2 separate regions of the Homo sapiens genome follow, and region 1 is linked to region 2. Evidence: promoter capture Hi-C in human tissues and cell types (Jung and others, 2019). All regions are on one chromosome and are shown on one strand. Each heading gives the region's core, a stretch centred on a gene start or on the middle of the fragment in contact. The rest is flanking DNA. Distances are from core to core; before and after follow the strand shown.

Evidence for each region. Contacts are between HindIII fragments. The study calls those that stand out against the background at their distance.
Region 1: a fragment that was not itself captured here is called in contact with the fragment with the promoter of KLHDC2 in region 2 in 1 of the 25 tissues and cell types used here (mesenchymal stem cells).

What each region holds. Positions count from the first base shown.
Region 1 is chr14:49,601,234-49,604,070 of GRCh38, forward strand. LRR1 (leucine rich repeat protein 1) reads left to right here. Exons shown (of 4, transcript NM_152329.4): 2 at 1,137-1,235. Among named protein-coding and RNA genes, the nearest start is that of LRR1, 3.7 kb to the left of the region's middle. The HindIII fragment of the contact is 4,652 bases long and covers 1-2,837 here.
Region 2 is chr14:49,766,872-49,770,038 of GRCh38, forward strand. It overlaps KLHDC2 (kelch domain containing 2), which reads left to right and starts at 1,282. Exons shown (of 13, transcript NM_014315.3): 1 at 1,282-1,750. The coding sequence starts at 1,598. RefSeq lists silencers at 682-741, 1,082-1,161, 1,332-1,511. The HindIII fragment of the contact is 15,286 bases long and covers 1-3,167 here.

The DNA.
Region 1 (2,837 bases), core at 147-2,646, 170 kb before region 2:
GGTCACAGCATCCTGCACTTGCCTTGTCTTGATATTTGTTATGCTTATAAGTACTTGTTTAATAACTATCTCTCATCAGATTGTCAACTCTTTAAGTGTAGTTACCCTGTCAGTCTTATTCATTGCTATGTCCCAAGCCCCTATTAGAGTACCTGGTACATAGTGGGTTCTGAATCAATAGTTGTTGAAATCTAAAGCAGATGCAACAGCAATCATTAATTTTTTTTAAATTTTAAATATGCCATTTATATAGATGATAATCATTAAATTTTTTTTGAGCACTCATTATGTGTCAGTCATCGTTCTAGCACTCAGGATAGAATAGCAAAGGAGACAAGATTCCTGCTCTCATGGAGTTTGTATATAACCTACTGGGAGGTGTGCCCACCCCAGGCTAATGGACTGAAGTTATGAAGGCAAGTAACTGCTATTGGCAACTCTTCCTACAGTTACATAGTTGGAATGGGAGAAAAGGAGCATTCTCTCAAAACATGGTGATCCTGTTCTCAAAGGAGAGTTACTGGACAGACAGAGCAGTAACATCCACCACCAGCTAGATGAGGAGTATAACTTCCCAACTGCTAAAAAAAAAAAAAAAAAAAAAAACTTTAAAACTTGGCCACGCGCCGTGGCTCATGCCTGTAATCCCAGCACTTTGGTAGGCCCAGGCAGGCAGATCACTTGAGGCCAGGAGTTCTAGACCAGCTTGGCCAACATGATGAAACCGTGTTTCTACTAAAAATACAAAAATTAGCCGGGCATGGTGGCACGCACCTGTAATCCGAGCTACTCAGGAGGCTGAGTCATGGGAATTGCTTGAACCTGGGAAGTGGAGGTTGCAGTGATGGCACCACTTCACTCCATCCTGGGTGAGAGTGAGTGAGACTCTGTCTCAAAAAAAAACAACTTTTTTTTTTTTTTTTTTTTTTTTTTTGAGAAGGAGTCTCTTTCTGTTGCCCAGCCTGGAGTGCAGTGGCGTGATAAAAAGCTTTAAAACTTAAAATGAAAACACTCAGACTCAAGGACTAAAAGCCAAACCAAAGCCTGGCAAAGTAACTGGCACATTCTAGTTGTAATAAATGTTACTGAGTAACAATAATTAGTTTTCTTCTTTTTTTTCTATTGGTTTTATGCAGCTAAGGGAGAACATTGAGCAATTCTTCACCAAATTTGTAGATGAGGGGAAAGCCACTGTTCGGTTAAAGGAGCCTCCTGTGGATATCTGTCTAAGTAAGGTATGGTATTAAAAACATTAATGATTAATATTTGGCTGTATTTTCTTTATTTTTTAGAAACAGAGTCTTGTTCTGTCACCCAAGCTGAAGTACAGAGGCATAGTCATAGCTCACTGCATCAAACACCTAGGCTCAAGCGAGCCTCCTGAATATCTGGGACTAAAGGTGTACCTCACCACTCCCGGATAAATTTTTAAAATAACTTTTTGTAGAGACGGAGTCTTGATATGATGTTGCCCAGACTGGCCTTGAACTCCTGGCCTCAAGCGATCCTCTTGCCTCAGCCTCCCAAAGTGTTGGGATTATAAGCATGAGCCACCATACTTGGCCTGGCGTGTATTTGCTTGCTTGCTTGCTTTTTTTGTTTGTTTGTTTGTTTGTTTTGAGACGGAGTTTTGCTCTTGCTGCCCAGGCTGGAGTGTAGTGGCACGATCTCAGCTCACTGCAACCTCCATCTCCCGGGTTCAAACAATTCTCCTGCCTCAGCCTCCCGAGTAGCTGGGATTACAGACACCCACCACCATGCGTGGCTGATTTTTTTTTTTTTTTTATCTTTAGTAGAGACAGGGTTTCACCATGTTGACCAGGCTGGTCTTGAACTCCTGAACTCAGGCGATCCACCCACCTCAGCCTTCCAAAATGCTGGGATTACAGGCGTGAGCCACTGTGCTCAGCCTGGCCTGTATTTTCTTTAAAGAAGGCTGTTTGCACATTCTGCTATCCCATATAGCCGAATAGGGACAGACTCTTGCAGGTTTTTTGAAGAGGCAATGGCACAAGAGGCAGCTTCCCAAATATGCTTGTGTGCCTTCTAAAAGGGCAAAGTCTGCCTCAGTAAGATTCCCAGGATGGGAAGAAAACTGGGTTTGCTTCTGTGCTCAAGATGGAGCCCTAGGGTGTTCTTTGACTGGAACTCTATAAGGCAACTGCACAGGTCTACATTTTGCCAGCTAAACCACAGGTTACAAATCTAAGTTTGTTGTAATAAAAGAGGAAAAAATTCAATTAGAACCATCTTGTATTTTATTTACTGTAATCATTCTTTCTTCTTCTTCTTTTTTTTTTTTTTTTTTTTTTTTTGAGATGGAGTCTCATTCTGTCACCCAGGTTGGAGTGCAGTGGGAAGAGCTTGGTTCACTGCAACCCACAGGTGGGTGCCACCACTCCTGGCGAATTTTTGTCTACTGTGCCTGGCCCTTACTGTAATCATTCCTTTTTTTTTTTTTTTTTTTTTTTTTTTAATGAGACAGAGTCTCTCCCTGTCACCCAGGCTGGATTACAGTGGCGTGATCTCAGCTCACTGCAACCTCCACCTCCCGGGTTCAAGCGATTCTCCTGCCCCAGCCTCCCAGTAGCTGGGATTACAGGCACGTGCCGCCATGCCCAGCTAATTTTTTGTATCTTTAGTAGAGACGGGTTTCACCATGTTGGCCCGGCTGGTCTCAAACTCCTGACCTCGTGATCCGCCCACCTTGGCCGCCCAAAGTGCTGGGATTATAGGCATGAGCCACCGTGCCCGGACTGTAATCATTCTTATAAAAATATAAACTGAGGCTGGGTGCCATAGCTCACACCTGTAATCCCAGCACTTTGGAAGGCCAA
Region 2 (3,167 bases), core at 32-2,531:
GCGCCCAGCCGAGATATTAATTTTGGATTCTACTAAGGACGACGGGAGCCAGCTCAAGGTTTTTAAGTGACTCGATCAGATTCACGAGGTTGGTTCACAAGGAACTTCGATAACCCCAAAGTCTAGTGAGCATAATTCGACTGGGAGAAGACACTGCTGCAAGGAATTCTGTGAACCAGACAGATTTGAGGGCACCAACCAGGGTGGATGGCAGATAAGGTCTTAACAGCCTCAAGGTGATTTGCTTCCTTGTTGAAGGCTTTAATTAATCCTCTTAAGTAACTTTCAAGTTCTTGAGTTCAAGTAAACACACTGGCACACTAGGGGAGGAGTGGCAGGCTATAAGCATTTTAATAATTAAAAAAAAAAAGCCTTTTATTGTTCAAAGTGTTCCTTTTCTATGGAGTGCTCCCAACCAGAAGATGAGGGAAATGGAGATAATGAAGCACGTCCCTCCTACCAAACACGATAAATTCTACAGGCACTGTAAGATCAAGAATTTAAGATTATTTTTGTCCCACCCTATTTTACAGGTGAGGTATCAAGCACAGTAACTCGTAATTTTCTTTTGGCCCAATTGAAAGGTATCATATAAGAGAAAGCTGTGTGTGCGTGAAAAGGATCCGCCTTTCTTTCTGAAGAAAAGGGTGGTTACGGCTTCGGAAACGCTTTTCAAGCCAACTCTGCAGCCCGGCTGGCGGCGGCAGCGGCGGCGGCGGCAACGTCAGATTCCCGCAGAGGCGGCGCCCGGCAGGGGCGGCAGGAGCTCAGGAGAGGCCCCCGGGGATCGGGCTGGGCCCCACGTGAGAGCTAAGCGACTGCCCTCGCGCCCGCAGAACAGCAGGGCCTGCATCGACTCTAAGGCGAGACCAGAAACTTGCTAGTGGAGCAATTCTGGTGCCCCTGCCCGGGCTGTGAACCCTCTGAGATCATCCCTCAATCAAACGAATAGAAATCCTCGGGAAGAAAAAAAAAATTGCGGCAATCCGGCTAAAATTCAGCAGCTTTCAGGGACCGATTCAGGACATTATCCCTGTGGTTCCCTCAGTGAAAGGAGACTCGAAGCGCGACTAGAAGTCGCCGGGCCCCATAGATCTGCGGTGCCCAGGCCGTAGGCGGAGGCGCGGGCAGAGGCGGCGGCGGCGGCGGCGGCGGCTGGAGGACCCGGCGCTGGGGGCGCTGAGCGGCAGCCTCGCTTCCGGAGCTCGGCGGGCGGCGTCAGCGGAACGGGCGGCTTCCGGCCGCGGCGTAAACAAGGCCGTGGACTGCAGGAGGCGGGGCAGACGGGCTGCAATAGGGAGCCGGCCCGACGCGGACCGCTTCCCTGCAGTGCCCCGAGTCCCGGGCCCGCGCCGCCGCCGCCCGGCTCCGCTCGCGGCCCCTCTGTCTGCAGGCGTGCCCCGGCGGCGGCGGAGAGCCGTCCTCGGCCGAGGAGGCTGGGAAACGCGAGCGCAGGCGGCAGAGAGGCCTCAACGCCGTCCCTTTCGCCACCGCCTTTTCCTTGCCTCGCGCCGCTGTGCATTTCTCTCCTTTTCCTTTGTTTTTTTGGCCCCTCGCGGGTGTGGGCATTGTTGGTTAGCAAAAGTGCAGCCTCAAGATGGCTGATGGCAACGAGGATCTGCGGGCTGACGACTTGCCTGGGCCAGCCTTCGAGAGCTATGAGTCCATGGAGCTTGCCTGCCCCGCTGAGCGCAGCGGCCACGTAGCCGTCAGCGACGGGCGCCACATGTTCGTCTGGGGCGGCTACAAGGTCAGTGAGTGGCCGGGCCGCGACGGACGTCGCTCGGCTGTGACTCGGGTCTGCGTTCGCGGCCAGGCGGGGAGGCCAGAGCGGGCCGCCGAGGGCGCTCCCCGCCTGCGTCGCGCGCCCCACCTCAGACTCTGCCCGTTGGTTGTTTTTTTTTTGCGCGCGGGAATCTTCCTTCTCTCGAGTACCCCAACCCGTCTCGAACCTCCAGGGCTGCTGTCATGTCACCCTGGTGCTCACAAAGCCAACTCACTCCCACCCCCGTTGTTGCCATTGGAGCGTTATTCCGGGGAAGGCCCTGTTAATGTTGCTTGGGCGGTGCATTCGGAAGGGTTGGGGTGTGAAAGGTGACGGTGTGTGATATCACTCAGACGCGTTATGAGGACGGCCTACGAGGACTTCACCCTCTGGAGCTGGGAACCGCTGCCCACTTACAGGGAGGCCGAGGTGTAGGAAAACTGGAATTCCAAAAGGTTACAGGAACCACCTTATTCAGCCTTCCCGCCTGTGCAAATGGCCATCAGGACTGTTTTCCTTCTGGCTTCAGCTGGGTTGAAGTTTTTCAGCAGACACCCCTATTAAGATAATGGAAAAGCTCCACCAGTAACCAAAAAATCCCCAGCATCAAATGAACTACAGAGTGCAGCTCTTTGACTCTCCGATCCCCTGGTTATAAACAACGTGATTAGTTAGCAGTTTAAAGCCAGTTGCCATTCTTTACCCTGCTAACCTCGGAAATCTAGAATTTTATTTGCTAGGATGGCTCTGAGCCAGTCCTACCACAAAATTCCTCTTTGGTCTTGAAAATGTTCTCCGCCCTCCCCACGCCCGTGCCTTGGATGACTTGCTTTGTGATTGTTTTTAGCTTATGGTACAGCTGACTTGATCATAGTTGACCATTTTTGAGATAGCTTTCAAAGATGGCTGTCCTGATACTTTATTTTGGTTTAACTGCAAAAGTAATTTTTTGCCAATCCTAATGAATCTGCAGTGTTTTCCCCAGTTTCCAATGAATGTGGTTAGAAAATAGAAAGGGGGCCGGGCGCGGTGGCTCACGCCTGTAATCCTAGCACTTTGGGAGGCCAAGGTAGGTGGATCAGCTGAAGTCAGGAGCTCGAGACCAGCCTGGCCAACATAGTGAAACTCCGTCTCTACTAAAAATACAAAAAAAAAAATTAGCCTGGCGTGGTGACGGGCGCCCTAATCCCGTCTACTTGAGAGGCTAAGGCAGGAGAATCACTTGAACCAGGGAGGCGGAGTTTGCAGTGAGCTGAGACGGCGCCATTGCACTCCAGCCTGGGCAACAAGAAGGAAACTGTCTCAAAAATACTTTAGAAAGGGGTAGAGAATTGCAAGAAGGGGGGCGGGGGGGCAAGCATGTAGTCACCCTTATAAAAATGTAAATTAATTCCCCTGGAGA